Regions from separate parts of the Homo sapiens genome. Here regions 2, 3, 4 and 5 are each linked to region 1. Evidence: promoter capture Hi-C in 16 types of primary human blood cells and fetal thymus (Javierre and others, 2016). All regions are on one chromosome and are shown on one strand. The core of a region is centred on a gene start or on the middle of the fragment in contact, and the rest is flanking DNA. Distances in the headings are between cores, read along the strand shown. Region 1 holds the start of KCNN4 (potassium calcium-activated channel subfamily N member 4). Region 2 has its middle 5.3 kb from the start of ZNF575. Region 3 overlaps XRCC1 (X-ray repair cross complementing 1). Region 4 overlaps ZNF576 (zinc finger protein 576). Region 5 holds the start of CADM4 (cell adhesion molecule 4).

Region 1 (2,657 bases), core at 118-2,617:
TGCTGGTGTATTACTCCGCGTATGTTGTTGTGTGGCCACGCATGTTGGAATATAACGTGTTGGGTTGTGTGGAGGTATTGTATGTCATGTTTGGGTGTGGCTCATGGCTCAGAGGTGATGGTGTATGTTGCGTTTGTTTTTTTGTTTTTGCTTGTTTTAGAGATAGGATCTTGCTATGTTGCCCAGGCTGGTCTCAAACCCCTGGGCTCCAGCAATCCTCCCACCTCAACCTCCCAAACTGCTGGGATTACAGGCATGAGCCACTGCACCCAGCCGTATGTTGCATTTGGGCACTGGGGTCTATGAAGGTCCAACCCCATCCCCTTCCCCCAGGGCATCATCCTGGATGTTGTCCTGTGTGGCCAGAATATACCAGAATCATCTTGCTTCAGGCATGTGCTTCTTGGGTTTCTCCGTGTGTCGCTGTACCTTGTAGGTCTCTGCATGCATCCACTCAGCTTGTCCTCTGACCATACATTTGAATCGCACCACACATCAGAGCATGCTGAATCAGTGCGTGTTTTGAATCATCACTGCGAGCACTTGTGTTCGAGTCAACAGGCGCCACAATGTATGTGCAATTCTCTAGCTCTGGGTGATTGGGGGCTACTATAGGTATGTCCCTAAATGTTGTGTGTCTACACGTATTGGGTTTCGTTCCAAGGGTGTGTAGTGTTTAGGAAACTGGGACTGCACAGTGTTTGTGTCGGTGTGTGGTGTGTGGCATCAGGGCGTCACTACTTTAATATATATTGTGTGTTTGTGTAACACCTGGTGTATGTTGTGTTTGTGTGGCCACAGTTGTGCATCGTCCTATTTGTGGTGTTTGGGTGTGGCTCTTTGTGTCAGAGAAAGTTGTGACAACTTTGAGTGTAATATTTGTGCCTGTGTGTGGACGGTGTTTGGGTGGCTGTGTGTGCCACGGGATACTGCCTGCTTGCTAAGTGCTGGTGTGTGTCACACCATGTGTGTGGTGTCTGGGTGTGGCTGTGGGTTTCAGAGCTTGCTGGGAGTTGTGAGTCACTCTGTGTAGGTTGTGTTGTGTGCCCTGGTGTGTTAGTCTCCGTCTTGGGCTGTGGAGTGTCCTTCGGTGTCTGGGTGTGGTGAGTAGAGGTGTGTGTCACAAAGTACAGACCATTGTGTGTGACAAAGCCCATCGTGTGTCTGTGTGTGTCTTTATCCACGTGGATGGACGTCTCTTTCTTGCTCTGCCCCAAGACACACCCTAGCCCCTCCTTATTCTCAAAAGGGGGAGCTGGGGAGCCTCCCCCTACCCTGGGGCCTCCCCTGCCCCTCCCCGCCCTGCCTGGCCGTCACCACTCCCCAGAGGGCACAGGGCTCTGCTGTGCCTCAGAGCAAAAGTCCCAGAGCCAGCAGAGCAGGCTGACGACCTGCAAGCCACAGTGGCTGCCCTGTGCGTGCTGCGAGGTGGGGGACCCTGGGCAGGAAGCTGGCTGAGCCCCAAGACCCCGGGGGCCATGGGCGGGGATCTGGTGCTTGGCCTGGGGGCCTTGAGACGCCGAAAGCGCTTGCTGGAGCAGGAGAAGTCTCTGGCCGGCTGGGCACTGGTGCTGGCAGGAACTGGCATTGGACTCATGGTGCTGCATGCAGAGATGCTGTGGTTCGGGGGGTGCTCGGTGAGTGGGGCATGGTGGCTGGGAGCTGGGACTCCTAGGTCTGAGGGAGGAGGGGCTGGGGGTCAGGACTCTTGGGTCTGAGGGAGGGGGGGCTGGGGGTCAGGACTCCTGGGTCTGAGGGAGGAGGGGCTGAGGGTCAGGACTCCTGGGTCTGAGGGAGGAGGGACTGGGGACTTGGACTCCTGGGTCTGAGGGAGGAGGGACTGAGGGCCTGGACTCCTGGGTCTGAGGGAGGAGGGGCTGGGGGTCAGGACTCCTGGGTCTGAGGGAGGAGGGGCTGGGGTCTGGACTCCTGGGTCTGAGGGAGGAGGGGCTGGGGGTCAGGACTCCTGGATCTGAGGGAGGAGAGGTTGGGGGCCTAGACTCTTGGGTCTGAGGGAGGAGGGGCTTTGGCTGGGACTCCTGGGTGCTCCCAGGAGACAGTTGCTGGGGTCCTTCTCTGCAAAAGGAAGGGAATATTTGTTTCAGTGTTTCAGTCTTTGAAGATGTTGCCATTAGACGGCCAGAGGTCCAGGACCCCTGGAGGCCAGAGGGTGGCTGATCAGACACTCAAGCCCCCCAAGAGCCAATAAGGGGAGAGGTAGCCCCAGGTTTGGTGAAGGGAGAGTGGAGGAAAGACAAAGTTCTTCCAGTAGGCGGCAGCTCTTTGGTCCTTGTCTAACCTCTAATGTTTACCCAGTGCCTTAGATGCAAAGGACAGAAAAAACTGCCTTGGGGGTGGGGATGGGAAATGGGAAACAAACCTCTCCCCCGACCTGCCTCCCCCCACCAACCCCAACCCAGTCTCCACTGTTAACAAGCTCAATTTCTCCCCAAATCTGCATGCTGATTAGTCAGGGAAATAGTGGAGAGGTAGGCTTACAGTGGCCTGGACTCCTAGGTACCAGGAGAGGAGGGGGCTGGGTCCTGGATTCCTGAGTCTTAAGGAGAAGGGGGTTTTGATTGCTTTTGGGGAAGAGGGGCTGACTCCGAAGATGAGTGGTGAGTAGGGAAGAAAGGGGAAAGTGGGGTCAGGGCAGG
Region 2 (2,657 bases), core at 51-2,550, 240 kb after region 1:
ATTCTTGTGCCTCAGCCTCCCGAGTAGCTGGGATTACAGGCGTTTGCCACCACGCCCAGCTAATTTTTGTTTTTTAGTAGAGGGGGGTTTTGCCACGTTGGCCAGGCTGGTTTTGAACTGACCTCAGGTGATATGCCCGCCTCCACCTCCCAAAGTGCTGGGATTACAGGCGTGAGGCACCATGCCCGGCCATGTCCATGTGTTCTCATCATTCAGCTCCAACTTATAAGTGAGAACATGCAGTGTTTGATTTTCTGTTCCTGCGTTAGTTTGCTGAGGATAATGGCTTCCAGCTCCATCCATGTCCCTGCAAAAGATGTGATCTCATTCCATTTTATGGCTGCATAGTATTCCGTGGTGTATATGTACCAAATTTTCTTTATCCAATCTATGGACACTTTCTACTCTCTCACTCCTTCCACCACAACTTTCAGATCTCAGTTCAGACATTACATCCTCAACAAGGCCTTTCCTAACCTCCACTGTATAATAGGATATGCCAGGTACACACTCTTAAAATACTATATCTCATCCATCCTAGTCATAACTTTACATTCATTTATGGTCACATTTACCCATGTTTTCATCTATGATTTACATTCTTTTGTCTCTTAAGGATACTGTCTCTACTTCTGGAGTTACTAAGATAATTCTTCTTATTTCCATGTAAATATTTTTGAGTTCTTCTCTTCAGATTTAGATCTTAAACTCCCAGAAACTTGTTTTTGCATATGGTGTGAGGTAGGGATCTGCAGTAGTTTCCCATTGTTGCTGTAACAAATTGCCATAAGCTTAGTGGTTTTAAACTACACAAGTTAATTTTATTATAGTTCTGGAGGTCAGTAGTCCAAAATCAGCCTTATTGGGCTAAAATCAAGTGTCAGCAGGGCTGCAATCCTTCTGGAGGCTCTAAGGAGGAATTTATTTCCTTGCCCTTTGTAGGCAAAATTCCTTGACTTGGGGCCTTTCATCACTCGAATGTTTGCTTTCATGATCACCTCTCTCTGTCTTCTGCGTCCTTCTTTCCCATATAAGGACCTTTGTGATTATATTGGGCCTATCTGAATAATCAGGATAACTTACCCATCTCAATCACATCTGCAATGTCCCTTTTGCTACATGCAAGCTAACATACAGGTTCTGGGGATTCAAATGTGGATATCTTTGGGGGATCATTCTTCTACATACCAGGGGATTCAACTTAATTTTTCCCCATGTCTCTTAGCCTTATTTATGATTAGTCTGTCCATCCTCCACTCATCCATGTCAAGGCTCAACAAACTATAGCCCATAGGCAAAATCCAGCCTACCTAGTGTTTTGGTAAATGTTTATTGGAACACAGCCATGCTCATTCATTTATGTATTGTAATGTGTGTGGCTGCTTTCCTGCTACAGTGGCAGAGTGGAATAGTTGTGGAAGACACTGTATGGCCTGCAAAACTTAAACATATAACAGATGCAGCTGGGCTTGGCGGCCCACGCCTGGAATCCCAGGACATTGGGAGGCCAAGACAGGAAGATCACTTGAGGCTAGGAGATTGAGACCAGCCTGGGCAACATAGTGAGACCCCATCTCTACAAAAAAATTTACAAAAAAAATTTAGCTGGGGGCTGGGCGCAGTGACTCACGTCTGTAATTCCAGCACTTTGGGAGGCCAAGGCAGGTGGACCACTTGAGGTCAGGAGTTAGACCAGCCTGGTCAACATGGTGAAACCCCATCTCTACTAAAAATACAAAAATTAGCTGGGCATGGTGGTGCACACCTGAAATCCCAGCTACTCAGGAGGCTGAGGTAGGAGAAGCTTGAGCCCAGGAGGCAGAGGTAGGTTGCAGTGAGCGGCGATCATGCCACTGCATTCCAGCCTGGACAACAAAGCAAGACTCCATCTCAAAAATAAATAAGCCGGGTGTGGTGGTGCTTGCCTGTAGTCCCAGCTACTTGGGAGGCTGAGGTAGGAGGATCGCTTGCGCCCAGGAATTCAGGGCAATGAGCTGCGATTGTGCCACTGCACTCCAGCCTGGACAACAGAGCAAGACCCTGTCTAAAAAACAAAACAAAACAAAACAAAACAAAAAAAACCCAATGCCCTTTGACTTACAATGATGCTACATCCGGATGAACCCATCATAAAGTTGGAGAATCCTGAAATCAAACCATTGTTAAGTCAGGGGACATCTGTACTCTTTGGCCCTTTATAGAAAAAGGTTGCCACTCCCAGGTCTACAGGTCCAGTTTGTCATATGTCAGCATAAGCACAGGTCTGTTTCTGAGCTCTCAATTGTCTTCCACTGGCCCGTTTTCAAGCCACCACCACCAATTTCATTACTGCACAGCTTTGTAATCTTGTATCTGGGTTGAGGGGGTGGGGAGCCAAGGCTCTCCTACTTGTTCTTCTAAATGGACTTGGGGCCGGGCATGGTGGCTCATGCCTGTAATCCTAGCACTTTGGGAGGCCAAAGTGGGAGTCCAGAAGTTCAGACTAGCCTGGGCAACATAGACCCTGTCTCTACATACATACACACATGGATGAATGAATGACTTGGCTGCTGCTGCTTTTTTTTTTTTTTTTGAGGCAGGCTCTCTGTCGCCCAGGCTGGAGTGCAGTGGTGCAACCTTGGCTCACTGCAACCTCGTCTCCCGCGTCCAAGCGATTC
Region 3 (2,657 bases), core at 110-2,609, 220 kb after region 1:
TGGGATTACAGACCTGAGCCACTGCACCTGGCTGAAAATACTTTGAAAAAAAAAAAAAGACTTGCCTTTTCTCATTGAATCATTTTGACTCCTTGTTGAGAATTAATTAACCATATGTATGGGTTTATTTCTGTACTCTCTTCTCTGTTCCATTGATATGTATAGTTTTCTTTATGCCAATACCAAACTGTCTCTTTTTTTAACCATATTATTTATTTATGTATATATGTATTTATTTATTTATTTATTTATTTATTTGAGATGGGGGTCTCACTCTGTTGCTCAGGTTGGAGTACAGTGGCATGATCTCAGCTCACTGCAACCTCTGCCTCCTGGGCTCAAGTGATCCTCCCGCCTCAGCCCCCCAAGTAGCTAGTGGGAGCCATCATGCCCGGCTAATTTTTAAATATTTTTTGTAGAAATAGGGTTTCACTGTGTTGCCCAGGCTGGTCTTGAACTCCTGAGGTCAGGTGATCCACCTGCTGCGGCCTCCCAAAGTGCTAGGATTACACATGTGAGCTGCTGTGTGTACCTGGCCTACTCTTTTTTTTTTGAAACGAGGTCTCACTTTGTCACCCAGGCTGGAGTGCAGTGGCACGATCTCAGCTCACTGCAGCCTTGTCCTCCCGGGTTCAAGTGATCCTCCTTCCACAGCCCCTCAAGTAGCTGGGACTACAGGCTTGCACCACCATGCCCAACTTTGCACTAGTCAGTGTGACAAGGTGAGAAAAAGAAAAAAGAAAACTATCTTTTTTCACAGATGGCATGATTGTCTATGCAGAAAATCCCAAGAGATCTAGACAAACTACAAGGTTTAGTAAGTGAAGGTCACAAGATGAGAAGTCAATATACAAAATAAACTGTATATTACACATCACTTCTGTGGTATTCTGGCCAAAGTGTGCAACCTAAATTAATCACAAGGAAACATCAGATACTTTGTACAATAAGTGATATCTGACAAAAATCACTGACCTCTACTCTTCAAAAACATCAAAGGCACAAACCCAAAGTCACAGGAGCCTTCCTTCCTTCCATTCTCCCTCCCCTCCTTCCCTCCCTCCTTCCTTTTTTTTTTTTTTTTTTTTTTTTTTTGAGATGGAATTTTGCTCCTGTTGCCCAGGCTGGAGTGCAGTGGTGCAATCTCGGTTCACTGCAACCTCCGCCTCCCAGGTACAAACGATTCTCCATCTTAGCCTCCCAAGTAGCTCGGATTACAGGCCTGTGCCACCATGCATGGCTATTTTTTTTGTATTTAGTAGGACAGGGTTTTCCCATGTTAGTCACCAGATGATAAATGCAGCTTCCCTGTCAGCTCCAAATCAGGCCTTTTATAAACAAGTATAGTCAAGGTCAGGAAGAAAACTTCCCTTCTGTATAATTGTCTTTCTTGTTTCCTTTGCATAATCAGCTGTGCACAAAGAGAGCTATAGTTATGTTCTGTTTTTCTCAGCAAAAGGCTTTATTGTCCAATTTTATAATTTCACAGCATGTCAGTTAGAAAAGAGACTAAGTCAGTAACAAAATATACCCAACCAAAAGTGGCTGCATTCATCTTTTTTTTTTTTTTTTTTTTTTTTGAGACGGAGTCTCGCTCTATTGCCAGGCTGGAGTGCAGTGGCGCAATCTTGGCTCACTGCAACCTCCGCCTCCTGGGTTCAAGTGATTCTCCTGCCTCAGCCTCCCGAGTAGCTGGGACTACAGGCACGCGCCACCATGCCCAGCTAATTTTTTTGTATTTTTAGTAGAGATGGGGTTTCACTATGTTGGCCAGGATGGTCTCGATCTCCTGACCTCGTGATTTGCCTGCTTTGGCCTCCCAAAGTGCTGGGATTACAGGTGTGAGCCACTGTGCCCAGTCTTTTTGTTTCGTTTTTTGTTTTTTGGCAGAGTCTTGCTCCGTCACCCAGGCTGGAATGCAGTGGCACAATCTCGGCTCACCATCACCTCCAACTCCTGGGTTCAAGCGATTCTTGTGCCTCAGCCTCTCGAGTAGCTGGGATTATAGGTGCCTACCACCATGTCCAGCTAATTTTTGTATTTTTAGTAAAGACGGTGTTTCACCATGTTGGCTAGGCTGGTCTTGAACTCCTGGCCTCTTGTCCACCAGGCTTAAGTGCAATGGTGCGATCTCAGCTCACTGCAACCTCCGCCTCCTGGGTTCAAGCAATTCTCGTGCCTCAGCCTCCCGAGTAGCTGGGACAACAGGCGTCTGCCACCATGCCTGGCTTAAATTTTGTATTTTTAGTAGAGATGGGGTTTTACCATGTTGGCCAGGCTGGTATTGAACTCCTAACCTCAAATGATCCGCCTGCCTTGGCCTCCCAAAGTGCTGGGATTACAGGCGTGAGCCACCGCGCCTGGCCTCAGCTTGGGTTTTTCAATGCAGATTGCTAACATGAATTGCTACTCTCAATTCCTTGAGAGAACAGACTTGTGAGGAGTTCTCCCGAGAAGAATTTTCACCTCTTCTTTGGTGTCCCCCCAAGCTAAGGCCAAGACAGACAGGCCTCCCAGGGACTCTTTCCACAGGCTTATTTCCCCTTCATGTAACTAGTGTGGGCGTTGCCTTTGGGGAGTCCTCAGTTCTATGCAGTGTGGTGAGGATCTCTGAGATGCCACTCTCCCTTGCTTGGAGCCTAGGTTTTCTCTCTTGT
Region 4 (2,657 bases), core at 81-2,580, 180 kb after region 1:
TGAGTTCCCCCACCTGCCCACACCCTTATGTTCTCTGGAAATTCCCACTCAAAAGCCAGAGCTCCCTGTTTAGACATTTTAATATGGATGTTTTCTGTTTTTAGATACTATTCCTGTTAGCTTATTCATACCATTTCACCTACACATATGAAAAAAATATTTCAGGACTAGAATGATATACAAAATTATTTCAACGAGACATAAATTATCGGGGGACTAGTGCCATCTAGTGCCATGGCCCCTCTAAGTGAGGATGGCAGGGGGTGGAAAAGAGACACAAGGACTCCAATTGCTACCCCCACTCAATTGGGGTCCAGCTCCCAACTTTGCTGCCCCATCCCCAAAAGCCCAAGTTGCTCCACATCTGGAACTCACCTGGTGGCATTACAGGCCAGCAACACCTCACCTTTCCTGCCCCCATTCAGGCAAAGGTCCAGGGCAATTTGCTCCCATAGCCCATGGCATCCATCTGGGAAGAATGAAGGGTGATGGCACAATCTGCAGCTAGGTATTTAACTGGGAATAAGGGAGACACAAACCATTTCTCTCCCGCACTCCCTTCCCATTTTTTTTTTTTAACAAAAGATCTCATTATTATCTGATTTCACTGTCTCACGAAGGCCCTGTGTGCTCCAAAGACTGAAGCTCTAAATAAGAATCTTCTGGGTCCTCTTTATTAAGAGCCCTCTGCCTTCCCAGGGGAGGGAAGCAAATCCTTCAGGGCCCCCAGAGTTCCTGCACCCCATATCATGGGTGAGTCCTACCAGCCACAGAGCCACCCGTCACCGTGGAGAGGCTTAAGCTGCACTCAGAGCTCCCCCCGGGCATGCCGAATGTAGTGTTGATGCAGCCCTGCTTCCTGAGCAAAGTCCTGACCGCACTCTGTGCAGGCGAAGGTGCCAGGAGGGGCACGGACCTCATGCATCTGGCGGTGCCGCCTCAGAGAAACAGCCTGCCCAAAGGTCTTGCCACAGTCAGGACAAGGGAAGGTGGGCTGGGCAGTAGTGGTTGCAACCGGCAGGGTGGGCTTGGCGGCTGGACCGTGGCTGCGCTGGTGGGTGATTAGGGCTTTGGAGGAGGGGAAGGAGCGGGCGCAGGTGAAGCAGATGAAGAGGACCCCCTGCAGCTTCTGGGCCACGAAGTCCGCTGGGTGCTCCCGCTTCATGTGACGCTCCTGGAACTTGGAATCTGCGAAGGTGATGAGGCAGCGGGTGCACTTCGGGGCCCCCAGGTGGCCTGAGGAATGTGGGGGAGAGGTCAGGGGAGGCCAGCAGGAGTCTCCAAGACCTCTTCCTGAACCCCAGAATCACACCAACAATTAACATTGAATGTGTTATGTGCTAGGTTCTATGCTAATGCTGGACAACCAAACAGGAGAACTGTTCTTGCACCTATTTTATGGATGAGCAAACTGAGATTCAAAGAGGTTAGGCAAGTTGCCCATAGTCATGAGGCTAGGAAAGGAAATGGTGGAGCCAGGGTTGGAACCCAGAGAGTCAGCCTGCCCAACAGAGGGGTATGGTGATTACAGCACAGCCTTTGGAGCCAGACTGCTTGGGATTGAATCTCACCTCCACCACTTCCTAGGCAATTACACCAGTTTCCTTATCTGGAAAATGGGCTAATAACAGTATCTACTCCATAGGACCGTTGGAAGGAATAAATGAATTGCTGTACAGTCATTTGCAATTATGACTAATGATACAGAGAAATCCAGCCCGACATCCAGGATCTGGCCTGGTACTCACAGCTAGACCTTGGTGTTCTGTTGAACATAAATTTTCACAGAATATCAAGGACAGACAAGGCCACGCTGTGACTAAAATGAATCAAGACAAGACTACATCATCATAATGTCTGAGCACAGACAAAATATGAATACTGTCCAAGCAGAAAAATGACCAAACATCCTCCTATCCTGGCTAATGTGAATGTCTGCTGCTGCTTTATCAGTCAGAGCTTGAGCCTCGCCTCCTTCCTTCCTCCTTCTGGGTAAGATTTATTACGATAGCCAATCATAGAATTGCCCCTGCTTCCTGGTAGCATCCAATCCAGAGCAAAACAATTTTGCTTGAACCTTCCCCAAAATCACCACCCACAAGCCCAAATCCTGTGTCGTTTTTACCATTCTTAGTGAGACACCCCACAGTCCCCCCATGGTCTGTGTTCATTGCAGTGAGAAACCCAACGTGTTCAACTGCAGGTGTGTTCCTGGTAGTCTCTGGCTCAAGGGCATTGAGACTACAGCTCTTGTTACAAATACCTCTCTCTGCCTCAGTTCCCAGTTTAAAGGGCCTATTATTAGAAGGACTCAATGAGATAATGAATGTTAAAATGGTTCATAATATGAGAATAAATACACCTAGCTCATAATAAAACACTGAGCAGGAGGTGTTGCTATTACATGTCAAACTGGCTACCATCATTAACCCCTAGCTTTCCCCTTTGCTGCAGTTAATCCCATACCCACCCTGTGAGGTGGGAAGTACCACCCTCTTTTGACAGTCAAGGAAACCAAGGCCCAAGTTACACTGAAAGTCTAGGGCAGAGTTGGGACCAGAATCTTGGGGTTTCTCTCCCAATAGAACCATTCCCAGCCACATCTCCAACCCAAGCCTCTCCTGGAAGCCACCCTATCCCTCTGAATGCATAAGCAT
Region 5 (2,657 bases), core at 93-2,592, 140 kb after region 1:
TTCAAGACCAGCCTGGCCAGCATGGCAAAACTCCGTCTCTACTAAAAATATAAAAATTAGCTAGGCATGGTGGCGGGCGCCTGTAATCTCAGCTACTCGGGAGGCTGAGGCAGGAGAATCACTGGAACCTGGGAGGCAGAGGTTGCAGTGAGTCGAGATCGTGCCACTGCACTCCAGCCTGGGCAACAGAGCGAGACTCCGTCTGGGCGGGGAGGGGGGAGGGGGGAAGGAAAGATGTTCATAATTGGCACTTCTGGACCTCAGTTTGCCTGACAAATGGGCATGAGAGAGGTCGAGGCCTTCTTTCCATGGTTTCTCACTCTTTCTGGGTCCCATAGGTAATGATCCCGCATCAGGTCTACAGGGTGTCACAGAAGTGGGCTCAGGGAAACCCACTCCCAGGAGGGAGAAGGGACCTAAGTCTGGAGGGGTGAGTCACCCTCAAAGATGGGGAGAGAGGAAGGGCAGAGGCAAATACATGCAGAGAGAGGGAGAGAGGCTGGGGCAGGGAGACAGCAGGGAGGAGAGGGGACGCCAGGGCTTGGAAGGTGTTCACAGGAGCCTCTCCCTCCTGGGACCCAGGATTCAGGCTTCCTTCCAGTTAGTTCACTTTCAGGGGGCCCCTCCCGGAGAATGACGCGGAAACACGGGGTTTTCAGGTCAGGACAGGAGAGAGGGAGGGAGGGAACTGACCCCACCCCACTCCTGAGCCCCAGCCTCGCCCTGCCCTGGGAGATCCTTGACCTGCCTCGACCTCCGGACCCTCCGGACCTCCAGCTGCAGCCTCCCCTGTCCCGGTGGCTCAGCTCACAGCCTCTCGCTAGACTCCAGACACCCACCTGCCCGCAGCACGCCTCTCACACTCACCTTTCCCACGTCGCACTCCCTCCCTTACGCTCCCCCGTCACGCTGGCCACGCTCTCCCTTCGCACACACCGCACCCCACGACGCCCGCGCCCCCACCCTCGCACAGCCTCCAGCAACACCCTGCCACCCTCCCCTCCGCGCAGCGCAAGCACCCTGCATGCCAGCAACTCCGCACCCTCGCGCGCAGCACCTGGGCCCGCACGCAGCACCCTCACCCAACACCCTCCATTTCCCGCGCTCACCGAGATCCCCCACCTGCTCCCACGCCGCTGTCGCCCTCCCGCGCACCCCTTCCCGCCCTCCTCACCCCTCTCCTCTCCAGCTTTCGCACCCCGCACCGTTCCCCCACCGTGCCGTCCCCCCGATTGTCTCCGGGCCTCTCCTCCGTCTCCCCCTCCCCTCCCCGGCCCCGCCCCGGCCTCGGCGCCCCGCCCCCGGGCGGGCAGGGGGCGGGGCGCGGGGGGCGGGGCGGGCGGCGCGGGCGGTGCAGGTGCCGGGCCGGGAGCGAGCGGCGGCGGCGGCGGCGGCGGCACCATGGGCCGGGCCCGGCGCTTCCAGTGGCCGCTGCTGCTGCTGTGGGCGGCCGCGGCGGGGCCAGGTAGGGTCGGGGGCCGGGGTCGGCCGGCCGGGCTGGGGCGGGGGGCGCGCTGTGGTGACAGCCCGGCAGCCTCGGGGCCGCAGAGGCCGAACAATGCGCGCGGGGCCGGGCCGGGCCCCCTCCCCGGGACAAAGCGCAGCGCGGGCCGGGAGCCGGGAGCGACGAGCGGGGGAGGGGGCGCGGGGCCCGGCCGCCGTGCCGCAGCCCCCCCACCCGCGCAGGCTGGATCCCGGCGGGGACAAAGGGCCCGAGACCCCCCTACACACACAAGTCCGCCCTCCCCAGGCCGGTCCCGCTGTCCTTCTGTCCAGTCTCTGCGTCCCTCTGTCCGCCCGTCTCTGAACCCCCCCGTCTGGCTCCTCGTCCCCCTACCCTTGTCCTCTATCCCTCAGTCTCGAAGTCCTGTCCCTCCTTCTGTCTGTCTCCCTCTCTTCTTGCCTCGGTGTTCCTCATCTATTCTGTCTTTGTCCCCTACCTCTGTCCCCTGGTCTCTGTCCCCTTTTCCTGGGTCACTCTGTCCCCTCCATCATCCTGTCTATTCTCTTTCCCCCGGATTTCTGCCCTCCCTCTCTGCCCCTATTCTTGGTCCCTGTCTCTGTCTCGCTGTCACCCTTGTTTTTCTGTCCCTTTTTCTCTGTCCCCTATCTGCCCCATCCCCTTGTCTCTGTCCCCTGTCTTTCTGTCACTCGTTTCTCTAACCCTTTCTGTCACCTGTCTCTTTCCCCCTTCTCTGTCCCACTATCTCCATCCCTGTCTTTCTGCTGTGCCTCCTCTCTCTACGCTTACAGCCTCCATCCCGGGATCTCCCATTCCCATCCTACCTTCCTCCCTCTCTCTATCCCTCTGTGCCCCTGAAGAGGAATTCAGTCAGGCAGGGCATTCTAAAGAGCCCTGGAGGGGAACATCTGTGTGCATGTGTGTGGGGAAGTGAGAATGGGGGACCTTGGCGTGTAGGCACACACGTGGATTCAGCGAATGCCTCTCCAAACCCTGCTCACCCATTCACACACCCAGGCTTGACTCACAGAGAAGCCCCTGTCCAGGACATCCAGGGAGCCATCCACATACCCTCATCACACACTGTGAGAAGCTGGAGACCCCCGAGGTTGGGTGACCCTGAGAATGGGGACAAGGTCAGGAAATGTCACCCACACACACTCTCACACTGTGTAAGTCTTGAACCTGCCACGGG

Evidence for each region. The method cuts DNA at HindIII sites, captures the fragments that hold promoters and counts their contacts. A CHiCAGO score of 5 or more calls a contact.
Region 2: a contact is called between a fragment that was not itself captured here and the fragment with the promoter of KCNN4 in region 1, in 2 of 17 cell types (activated CD4 T cells and fetal thymus). The highest score is 7.2, in activated CD4 T cells.
Region 3: a contact is called between a fragment that was not itself captured here and the fragment with the promoter of KCNN4 in region 1, in 5 of 17 cell types (activated CD4 T cells, non-activated CD4 T cells, M0 macrophages and 2 more). The highest score is 9.3, in activated CD4 T cells.
Region 4: a fragment that was not itself captured here is called in contact with the fragment with the promoter of KCNN4 in region 1 in 14 of 17 cell types (activated CD4 T cells, M2 macrophages, non-activated CD4 T cells and 11 more); the score reaches 11.7 in activated CD4 T cells.
Region 5: a contact is called between the fragment with the promoter of CADM4 here and the fragment with the promoter of KCNN4 in region 1, in 8 of 17 cell types (total CD4 T cells, neutrophils, M1 macrophages and 5 more). The highest score is 8.7, in total CD4 T cells.

Annotation. Positions count from the first base shown.
Region 1 is chr19:43,779,683-43,782,339 of GRCh38, reverse strand. It overlaps KCNN4 (potassium calcium-activated channel subfamily N member 4), which reads left to right and starts at 1,367. Exons shown (of 9, transcript NM_002250.3): 1 at 1,367-1,637. The coding sequence starts at 1,479. RefSeq lists a silencer at 1,116-1,385 and enhancers at 1,992-2,121, 2,480-2,657. The HindIII fragment of the contact is 12,714 bases long and covers 1-2,657 here.
Region 2 is chr19:43,537,197-43,539,853 of GRCh38, reverse strand. No RefSeq gene overlaps it. Among named protein-coding and RNA genes, the nearest start is that of ZNF575, 5.3 kb to the right of the region's middle. The HindIII fragment of the contact is 1,013 bases long and covers 794-1,806 here.
Region 3 is chr19:43,556,231-43,558,887 of GRCh38, reverse strand. The region is part of intron 3 of XRCC1 (X-ray repair cross complementing 1); the gene reads left to right. Among named protein-coding and RNA genes, the nearest start is that of XRCC1, 18 kb to the left of the region's middle. The HindIII fragment of the contact is 4,144 bases long and covers 1-2,657 here.
Region 4 is chr19:43,597,410-43,600,066 of GRCh38, reverse strand. It overlaps ZNF576 (zinc finger protein 576), which reads right to left. Exons shown (of 3, transcript NM_001145347.2): 3 at 1-1,236. The coding sequence ends at 809. Among named protein-coding and RNA genes, the nearest start is that of ZNF576, 2.1 kb to the right of the region's middle. The HindIII fragment of the contact is 3,632 bases long and covers 1-2,657 here.
Region 5 is chr19:43,638,535-43,641,191 of GRCh38, reverse strand. It overlaps CADM4 (cell adhesion molecule 4), which reads left to right and starts at 1,342. Exons shown (of 9, transcript NM_145296.2): 1 at 1,342-1,465. The coding sequence starts at 1,402. RefSeq lists a silencer at 1,319-1,458. The HindIII fragment of the contact is 9,580 bases long and covers 1-2,657 here.